Linked DNA regions of Homo sapiens: region 1 is linked to region 2. The links are contacts of gene promoters, found by promoter capture Hi-C in human tissues and cell types (Jung and others, 2019). All regions are on one chromosome and are shown on one strand. The core of a region is centred on a gene start or on the middle of the fragment in contact, and the rest is flanking DNA. Distances in the headings are between cores, read along the strand shown.

Region 1 (5,206 bases), core at 1,697-4,196, 360 kb before region 2:
AAGAGAAGAGTGAAGGGCCGAAGATAAACAAGACCTATAAATTAGGGAAAATAAATTCAATCTTAGACAGTTTTTTGCCTTAGAAATGTGAAGTGTTAGCAGTGATGACTGCACGTTTACACTTCTTTTTTCATCTTTTTTTTCTTTTAAGTAACCTTTCGTGAGAAAGTGTCAGCTTTATAATTTTATATAATAGTAAACCTTTTGCCTTGGTATAAAAATAATTAGAGGCCCTTCCTAAGTAAAAGACACAAAAAGACAAAAACCCTGCTAGTGATGTCTAGAAGTAGACTTGGGTTCCTCTCCCAGTGAGAAGGTCTTGTTATTATAGAAAAGACATGTTATAGACAATGGATTCCTTTTTCACTGGCTCCCAGGAAAAAAAAAAAAAATCAAGACTGGTATCCCAGCTACCCTGTTAACTTAAAATCCCTACTGAAGAGTAAATCACCTAAGGGAAGTGCTTTTTTTCTGAAAAGACATTTCTAGTGAAATTTTTCTCTTAGTGGTGTTGAATTTATTATTTGTAGAATGCTGTCCTTTGTATCTAACTAATTATAGTACAAGTGATTTTAAGTCATCAAAATAAAATGCAAGCTAACAGTTACTGAACGCTTACTAAAATACATGATTTTAAAATCTGTATATGTCTTAGTTTATTTAATCCTTACAGCTCAAGATGGTGGAACTACTGTTATCCCCATTTTAAAGTTAGGGAAACTGAGATACAGACAGAATTAATAGTCCGGTCCAAGCTTGCACAGAATATGTGAAGCTGTCTAAATGGCCCCAGGAGGTGAGTTTACCCATTACTATACTCTGACTTATAATAGATTAACATCTCCAAGGTGACATATCTGTGAAAATAAACGAACCATTCTAACTCCACAGCTCTGTTAAATTAAGTTTGGCCTAAAGCTGTCTCTGTACATATTTTAAGTTTGGCCTAAATTTGCCTTTGACTTGTGTGGCAGCCCCTTGCTAATTGCCTGAACTTGGGCATGATTCTTACATTCTGAAAGCTTGTTTTCTTTTAAAATCAATCATGTGAAAGCAACAATAATAATTACAAAAGGAGCCATTCTTTGTACATAATGAACTGTAACCTAACTTGATGTGCATACGTAAACACACTGTAACCTACTCTTGTAAGAGGTAACTAAGTCTCAGCCAACCACAGGCAGCCAACTGTTCAAAGCAGGTTCAAATAAGGCAAATGCCCAGCTGTAGCCAATCCAGCTGTTTCTGTCCTCACTTCCGTTGTATGGCACTTTCCTTTTTCTGTGAATACCGGGAGTCGCTCTGAACCTATTCTGGTTCTGAGAGCTGCCCAATTCACGAATCTTTCTTTGCCCAATTAAACTCTGTTAAATTTGTCTAAAGTGTTTCTTTCCACAGCTCCTTCTGGTCCTCGACTTTTCTATCCATCCACCTAGCCATCCATAAGCTTTATCCTAATCCTAAACATGTGAGTTAAGCAGATGAATGAATATATAGATGTGGAAGAGAAACAGAAATAGAGAGAGATAGAGAAACATTGTGCGCATACAGAGAGAGAAACAGAGAGCATGTGTGTGTATCTATATATAGAGAGAGACAGAACATGTGAAGCAAGGGACAGGCAGCAAATGAGGAGATTTTGATTCAGGATTCTTAACCTTGAGTGTGTGGGGTCCATGAACATCTTAGGATTATATGCAAAGTGTCACATTTATATGCATTTTTCTGGGGAAAGAGTCCTTAGCTATCTTCAGATCCTCAAAAGTGCCTGTGTTCCTGACAAGATTAAGAATCACTGATTTCAATAAAGTATAAAATAGTGCACACACCAGTTATCTTCTCCTTCTTTCGTGTGGGACCACTGCCTACACAATCTATGTTCTTCCTTTTGGTCAAAAAGTGAAAGAAGACAAATAAGAAGGCCAGGTCATCAAGAGACATTAAGAGTATCTTTGGAACTCACTGACACGTTCTTTGTTACTTTCAATAGTTAATGCACGATATACTAGATGTTAACTCAAACATGGTCAAGGGGACCAGGCACGGTGGCTCATGCCTGTAATCTCAGCACTTCAGGAGTCCAAGGCGGGAGGATCACTTGAGGTCAGGAGTTCCAGAACAGCCTGACCAACATGGTGAAACCCTGTTTCTATTAAAAATACAAAAATTAGCCAGGTGTCATGGTGGGCACCTGTAATCCCAGCTGCTCAGGAGGCTGAGGCATGAGAATCATTTGAACCCGGTAGGTGGAGGTTGCAGTGAGATGAGATCACACCACTGCACTCCAGCCTTGGCAACAGAGCAAGACCCTGTCTCAAAAATAAAAACAAACATGGTTAAGGGAAGAGGATCAACTTTTACTAAGGACCCACTATATGATAGGCACTTAATTTTTCTAACAACACTGTGCTATAGGTATTATTATTGTTGTTCTCATATGATTGATTTTAAAAGAAAACAAGCTTTTGGAATGTAAGCATCATGCCCAAGTTCAGGTATTTAGCAAGAGGCTGACTTGGCAAATCATTTCATGGTCTGTCATAATGAATATGGGTATGTGTGTACATGTGTTCTTGGGACAGAGTGACCAGGTAGATCCGCTAGCTCTGTTGCATCTCCGAAGCAACAAATATTTGTCGGGGGGTGGAGAGGAGAAGAAGCTCATTATTTGGAGATCAAATAACTCAATGCTGCTATTATTTCTAGCTCCTGATTCCCCTCCATTAATTTATCACCTTCTTCTATGAATTGCATTGAACAACTCTGTATGCTAGGCATTGGGTAGAGTCTAGAATATCATCTTGCAATATTGTCTCCAGTAGACCCATGGTCCATGCCATTGGAAGCTCACTGTCTAGGAGAGACCACAGGCATGTGAGTAAATCATTACAGTACTGTGGGACAGGGATTCAAATATAAGAATGTCCTGAGGCCGAGCGGTGGAATGAAGAAGCAGCTTGATGTTGCCAAGATGTTTCAACTGAACCTTAAAGAATGGGGAGAAATTCCCAGCAAACAATAGGTGATGGTTAATTTTATGTGTCAGTGTGGCTGGGCCACAGTGCCCAGATATTCGGTCAAACAATCTTCTGGATGTTTCTGTAAGGGTGTTTTCAGATGAGATTGACATTTAAATAGATGGACTTTGAGTAAAGCAAATTGCCCTCCTTAATGTGGGTGGGCCTCACTCAATTATCTGAATAGAGCAAAAGACTGATCTCCCTGAGCCGGAAGGAATCCTGCCAGCAGATGGCCTTCAGAAATGAACTGCAACATTGGCTCTGCCCTGGGTGTCCAGCCTGCTGGCCCATCCTGCAGATTTTGGACTTGACATAATTGCATGAACCTATTCCTTAAAATAAATCTATTTCTGGATATATACATATCCCATTGGTCTGTTTTCCTGGAGAACCCTGACTAATACATAGTGAAAGTAGGACTCTTCTAGGCAGAGGGAACAGCATGTACAAAGGCACAGAGACTCCAGAAACAATGATTCAGTTGAATCATAGTCCAGTCAGTTTATTGAATCTTGCTCTGGTGCCTGGTCTTATTGCCTGGCCTGATCACTCTATGCTTGCTCCCATAAATAGATCCTAGGAATATGATCTTTCTAGTCTGTTTGACCACCCCAGTGGTTTTGAAAATGCATAAACTGCTTATAGTTCCCTAAAGTAATGAGTCTCCAGGACCAGTAGTAACAGTTATCAGTTGGAAGATGCACAAGTTTTATCTGTCACCATGGCCGAGGTGTGCACAACTGCTACTGTTAGAAAACAACATAGGCTCCCGGACAACATATTGTTTTTTGCCACAATTTTATCATCAGTACCCCAGGGGATAATCTGTGTCAGTTAAGGTTCTCCAGAAAAATGGAACCAACAGGATAGGTGTGGGGAGATAGAGAGAGAGAGAGATTTTAAGAAATTGGCTCACGTGATTGTGGAAGCTTGGAAAGTCCAAAGTCTGCAGAGTAGGCCAGCAGACTGGAAACCAGGAAGAGTTGGAGTTCAAGTCCAAAGGCAATCTGCTGGCTGGGCGCAGTGGCTCATGCTTGTAATCCCAGCACTTTGGGAGGCGGGCAGATCACTTGAGGCCAGGAGTTCAAGACCAGCCTGGCCAACATAGTGAAACCCCATATCTACTAAAAATACAAAAATCCAGGCTGGCACGGTGGTGCATGCCCGTAACCCCAGCTACTCAGGTGTTCTGCATCATGCCTGTTCCCATTTGGTGTGCAGTCCATTTGTACAGAATTTTAACCATTGGTTTGTTCATTCATTTTTTTCATCCCATTCAAAGCAACTGTGTGACAGTGTATCCTTTTTATTTATTTTGCAGAATAACAAACTGTATGTTTTAGACCAAAGGATTTAGCTGGAAGAAGGAGGGAGGAGCGAGGCTTGGGGAGGTATGTATTCTGTCACTGACTTTGTATGGTGACCACTTATCATGTGCAAGTTGGAACGCAATGCCCAGTTTGAAGCTCATTATTTCTGATAGACCGCCTCTGAACTCTTGTAGCGGGAAATGGAGTTGCCTCTCAACATCCATTCTGACCTGTCCGCTATTCCTGCTGTGTAACAGCCCAGGTGTTTAGGTTGAATAGACCCCACTCCTAGTCTAAGGGTAAACCTTAATTGGAACCATTCACAGTGAATGATTCAGTGCCTGGCAACGAATTGAGGCATTAAGTTCATCAGTACATGTTAATCCTTTGGCCATGTGGGTGGGCACAAGATGCTAAAAAAAAAGTGATTGTGGGGAGCCTTCTTCTCCCCAGCCCTAGAAGAAGCATTAGTCTCTATTGCTGCTGGTAATCATTCCTTCCTTCATTCTTCTCTCTAGCCATGTTTTATTGGTGGCCTCTGTTCCAAGCAAAGTTTAGTTCTAAGTGCTGGGGGTACCAAGTCATTGTTATCCTGGATCTTACAATTTAGTGGAAGAGGCAGAAAATAAACAAACATCTAAATACATTATACACTGTGATGGTTACTTTTAGATGTCAACTTGGCTAGATTAAGGAATGCCTGGAGAACTGGTCAAGCATTCCTTCTTGGTGTGTCTGTGAGGGTGTTTCCAGAGATTAGCAGGTGAGTCAGTGGACTGAGGAGGGAAGACCTGCTCAGTGTGGGCAGACACCATCCAGTCAGCTGGAGGCCAGGATAGGACAAAGAATGAGAGAAAGGATTTCCTCTCTGTCTCT
Region 2 (5,673 bases), core at 2,908-5,407:
GGTGTGAGCCACCGCGCCGGCCCTCTACTAGTATACTATCTTAAGGCTCTCAAAGATCCCTTCATTTAAATATCTTATTCTGATACATAAGGGTAATATTCACTGGATCCAACAAGTTCAAAGCTAAACTGATCACCTCTCCTTACAAGCCTATCTTTCAAAGCCCTGAGAATGGCACTACCATCTACTCAGTTGCTAGTAGATCTAAAAATATGATATGATATATACTGTCTAATGCAGAAGGAGATGGAGACAACCAAACCATATAGCCTAAAATTAGATGACAATAACAAGTAACTATTATTACAAGAAATGTAAATGGTAACTATTTTGAAAAAAAAAAAGACTAAACTATATCATACCTAGAAGAACCTAACCTAAAACAAAAAGATACACAAGAGTTAAAAGCAAAAGAACAGAAAGAAATGAAAATAAAAAGAAATACTAACATAATATTTATTTAACAAGTATTATGTGTCAGACACAAAGTTAAGTAAGTTGTTCAAGGTAAAATAATTAAGTAGAAGTTAAGGTTTTAATATCATACAAAGTTGTAATCAAAGCAAAAAGATATTATATTGACCAAAAGGCTTGTTTTATAATAATTAGGGATGCTCTACACTGAAGATAAAACCATCCTGGGCCGGGCACGGTGGCTCACGCCTGTAATCCCAGCACTTTGGGAGGCTGAGGCGGGCAGATCACGAGGTCAGGAGATCAAGACCATCCTGGCTAACACGGTGAAACCCTGTCTCTGCTAAAAATACAAAAAATTAGCCGGGCATGGTGGCGGGCACCTGTAGTCCCAGCTACTCAAGAGGCTGAGGCAGGAGAATGGCGTGAACCCGGGAGGCAGAGCTTGCAGTGAGCCGTGATCGCACCACTGCACCCCAGCCTGGGTGACAGAGCGAGACTCTGTCTCAAAAAAAAAAAAAAAAAAAAAAAACCATCCTAGACTTTTATGCACCAACTAATATAGCACCAAAATACGTAAAACAAAAAGTACTGAAGGCTGGGTACAGAGGCTTACACCTATAATCCCAGCACTTTGGGAAGTGAAGGCAGGAAGATTGCTTGAGCCCAGGAGTTTGAGTCAAGCCTAGGCTACATGGCAAAACCCCATCTCTACAAAAAATTTAAAAATTAGCCAGGTGTAGTGGTGGGTGCCTGTAGACCCAGCTACTCAAGAGTCTGAGGCAAGAGGATCACTTGAGCTTGGGAGGTGGAGGTTACAGTCAGCCAAGATTGTGCCACTGCACTCCAGCCAGGGCAACAGAGCAAGACCCTGTCTCAAAATAAATAAATAACTGCTGAAAATACAAGGAGAACCCAAAGGCAATACTATAGTTGCATGAGACTTTCATACTTCTTTACCAGTCCTTGGCAGATAAAATATACAATATGAATAAGAACATGGTAAAATTGTGTAAATGTTCTATGGATACTTAAATAGAAATATTCTCTATCTTCATATCTTATTAGATCTCCATTACTAATCATATAATTCAGATCCTCTATATCAGTGATCAGCATAGATTTTCTATAAAGGGCCAGGTTATAAGCAATTTAAGACTCTGCAAGCCACACATTTGTAGCATGAAAGCAGCATAGATGATACATAAACATATGAGCATTGCTGTGTTTTAGTAAAATAGTGGATTACAGGTTGTGGCTCATGCCTATGATCCCAGCACTTTGGGAGGCCGAGGCAGGCAGATCACCTGAGGTCAGGAGTTTGAGACCAGTCTGGCCAACATGGTGAAACCCTGTCTCTACTAAAAATACAAAAATTACCCAGGCGTGGTAGCGGGCGCCTGTAATCCCAGCTACTTGGGAGCCTGAGGCAGGAGAATGGCTTGAAACCTTGAAACCGGGAGGCAGAGGTTTCAGTGAGCCGAGATCACGTCACTGCGCTCCAGCCTGGGCAAGAGCGAGACTCCATCTCAAAAAAACGAAAACAAAAACAAAACAAAACAAAACAAAAATCACTTTATTTACAGAAAGAGGCTATAGGCCATATTTGGTCCATGGACCATAGTTTGCCATCTCTACTCTATTATGATTGCTTAATAGGAACTATGGTCCATGGTCCAAATGGAACATTTGCCAAAAATGAGCATATTTAGAATACAAAGACAAATCTGGAATTAGAAAATAAGAAATGTGCAGACCATATAGTCTGACCACAGTGCAATAAAAATGAGAATAAAAGAAGCAAACACCCTGAACTACTCAGGAAGTCAAAGATTCCTCAAGCAAAAATACTCCTCAATTTATTGTTTACTATACCACCATATTAATTCCTCAGCTTAATCTTGGGACTTTAAATAGTAGTGGACCCAGAATGAGAAGAATAAAATCACGCCGTCAAAATTGTTCTTCATACCCTGTTGTCTTCGATTACCATTCAAGACTAGAATACAAAAAAGCCAGTTCTAAAGGGAACTTCCAAGGCGACGTGTGCAGATGGAGAGGGGCCAGAATCGAAACACAGGAGGGGAAACTGGGGGCCTCCCCAAGACCCCTATGAGGAACTCAGGCCCAGCCCCTTGCCTGATCACAGTTCCATGTTCCTGCGGAGCTGGGAGGAGAAATCAGTCTTCCTGACTCAAGGTTGAGAGCTCTTCCCGGGAAACCAAAGGGTTCTGCTCATTCCATTCTGCCCTTGAGGCACTCACCTCTCCACGCCCTTGGAGAGGTCCCTTGTTTCCCACGTAGCGCCTCTCCCGGCCCTTCCTTCCCCTCATTCCTTCCCTCACCTAGCAGACACCGGCATGCAAACCTGGAGGGTGTGTGCCCCCTCCGCCCTCACCCCTCCCGTGGTCCCTAGCCCATTGTGTCTGAAGTAGCTGAAGTGTTCCCCTTCAGGAATGAACCCACAGCAGTGGCTGATTCGGCCGAACCCTTCAACAGGTGTGGTGTTTACACAAGCCTCTGAGGAGACAATCAGGAATGGAAAGAAGTCAGGAATGGAAAGTCCTTCAAATTCCTTGATTCTGAGCAGGTTTCAGCTGTTAGCTAGCCTTTCCCATGGATGTTTAAAGCTATCTGTGGCCGGGCGCGGGGGCTCACACCTGTAATCCCAGCACTTTGGGAGGCTGAGGCGGGCAGATCACCTTAGGTCGGGAGTTTGAGACCAACCTGACCAACATGGGGAAACCCCGTCTCTACTAAAAATACAAAATTAACCAGGAGTGGTGGTGCATGCCTGTAATCCCAGCTACTCGGGAGTCTGAGGCAGGAGAATCGCTTGAACCCGGGAGGTGGAGGTCGCGGTGAGCTGAGATCGCAACATTGTACTCCAGCCTGGGCAACAAGAGTGAAACTCCATCTCAAAAAATAAAATAAAGCTATTTGCCAGCCTTCCCCATGGATGTTTAAGGGACCAGATGGAACAGCATCTATGCTATTCCCAAATCCTATCCATAAAGTCGGTAGTGGAAGGTGCACTCTCAGCGCACATTCAACTTTCATCTGTCCCAGGTTTCTGAGCAACTCAAGGCACACCAGAGTGGAACTGACCGCCCACACATCAAGAGAAAAGGGATGGGCTTCTAGATCTAATTCCCAAAACTCAGAAGGGCTTTTTGCAGCATCTGGGTAAAATAGTAGCTGTCACCGTGTCCTCCCTCCTGCCCCTGCCCCTTGTTTCCCACTCCCCCTCCACTCCCAGTACCTTCGGGTCCTCTGAGATCTTTCTCCCTCTATTCTTTTCCTGCAGAGTGATCCCAGAGCTGCTCACCTCCTGCCTGGCCGGATTCCATCTACTCAAAGTTTGTAGAATGTGTCCGAGCAGAAACTATTACCCTGATTATCTCTTTGCTCTCTGCCTCTATCTTAGCCTAGGAAACCCGCAAAGGGGAAAAAAAAAAAAAAAAATCTGAGTTGTTAAACTAGAGGAACTGTTTCCTAGGGAATTTTTTTCTCATAGCCAACTGTATTCCATTACCAGGATTTCTCTCCTCTTCTATCCCACCCCTCCCAACGCCCCGCTCTCCCCAGACGATTTAAATCCGGAGGCCCCAGCGCTCTGGGCTCCTGGCGCCTCACTTACCCTAGTGCCAAGGCGTTGGCCGTGAACTTGGTGCTGCTTCCCGCGCGCAAGAGGGCAGCAGGCGAGCTCCTCAGTGCTGGGGGAGACCTTGGACAGCTATCCCGCCCTCGCACTCTGAGCAGTTGTTATAAAGGCGGCCCTCGCCGGAGGGAGGGAACGAGCGAGGGGTGAGCAGAGGGACAAGGAGGGGGAGGGTCGAGGGAGAGGACACGCCTATTCCAGTTCCACGGCACTTCATGCTGTTATGAAAATAAAGTCCCCGTGCCAGGGAATGACCCAAAAACCGTCTGACGTCAGAGGCACAGTCACCCCTGGAAGCTGGGCGGGGGTGACCACCCGGCCCTGCCCAGCGCATCGGACTCCTCCGAGACGTGCTCACGCGCTGGTCCCAGGGCGCCGGCTACGAGAGGGGAGCCGGAGCAGACCAGCTCCTTACGGGCCCCGCCAGCTGTCACCTCCCGGGGGAGCCACACCCGCCTCCCCGCAGGCACTCGGGTCCACCCGGGGCAAGGGCCCAGCCCGCGAGATTGCAGCAGCTCCGCCGTCAAGTCCAGCGGGACAAGCCAGCCTTCCTCCACTTTCTTTGACCTTAGCTTAGCCTTTCTCTCCATCACTCTCCCCCAGCCACTGCCGTATGGGAAGCCAGGCTTCAGAAAAAGGAGGCAGCCACCTTCTCAGGGCTCCCCAGCCAAAGCCACGTGAAAGCCAAGGAAAACTTCCCCCACCAGGTCCGTAGTTAGCTCAGCAGCTCCACCTGTCAGAGTCTAGACAGGCACCATTAGTGCTGCCCTGGGGCTGAGAGATCAGTATCTCTCCTTTCCTAACTGCCTCTCCTAAAGCCTCGACAATGCAGGCTGATTGAACGGGGGCGCCAGATGAAATTATGAAATGAAGGAATTTGCTTTGGTGCCTGGTTTCCCCTCCCTCCACTGCCCACTCCTCTTCCAGGATCAAGCCAATCGGACCGAAACTCGTCTTTGTTTACGTGTGGAACGATCCTGGAGTGGCTGCCCGCCTGTGTCGGGGCTCAAGCCAGGTTCTACCCCATGCCACGGGGAGGCAGGAGGGACTCTGTTTTTAAAGTGGTTATCAGCGCGCTTGGTAAACTAATCTGGATTATTCTGCATATGAAGAAATGGGGGAAGGCCCAGGGCTCCCCAGCTTTCTCTTCACTTCTCCCCACACCCCAAGTCTCCAGAGCCTAAAGTGCTTTTAAAATGTGACCTACTGGAGACTGTGACCCCACCATTGTTAGGTTTTTATTTCACTCCCAAAAAACCACAGGCAGTGCCTTGAGTGTTGGAACACTTTGAGGTATGCAGCCCAGGGGTCTGTGAGTCCACCCATTTCACACCTAAGACTCCCAGGGGTGTGTGTGGCAGAGTGGGGGTGGGTACTGAGAGACTGGTGGGACTGCAAATGACAGTGCTTTATAGTGTGTGCCATCCGCTAAGTCAGGGCTTCTCTCCGGACCCCAGCGTTCTCGTCTGTTCAAGAAGTTGAACTAGACTACCATTGTACAATAGAACTATAATTCAAGCCACAAACATAAGCCACATTTGTTTTTTATTTTTTGTGTGTTTTTTCTTTTTTAGACAAGGTCTCGCCGTCACCCAGGC

Evidence for each region. Contacts are between HindIII fragments. The study calls those that stand out against the background at their distance.
Region 1: a contact is called between a fragment that was not itself captured here and the fragment with the promoter of GPRC5A in region 2, in 1 of the 25 tissues and cell types used here (hippocampus).

Annotation. Positions count from the first base shown.
Region 1 is chr12:13,250,514-13,255,719 of GRCh38, reverse strand. No RefSeq gene overlaps it. Among named protein-coding and RNA genes, the nearest start is that of EMP1, 56 kb to the right of the region's middle. The HindIII fragment of the contact is 3,421 bases long and covers 1,236-4,656 here.
Region 2 is chr12:12,890,046-12,895,718 of GRCh38, reverse strand. GPRC5A (G protein-coupled receptor class C group 5 member A) reads right to left here and starts at 4,157. Exons shown (of 4, transcript NM_003979.4): 1 at 4,055-4,157. The HindIII fragment of the contact is 16,829 bases long and covers 1-5,673 here.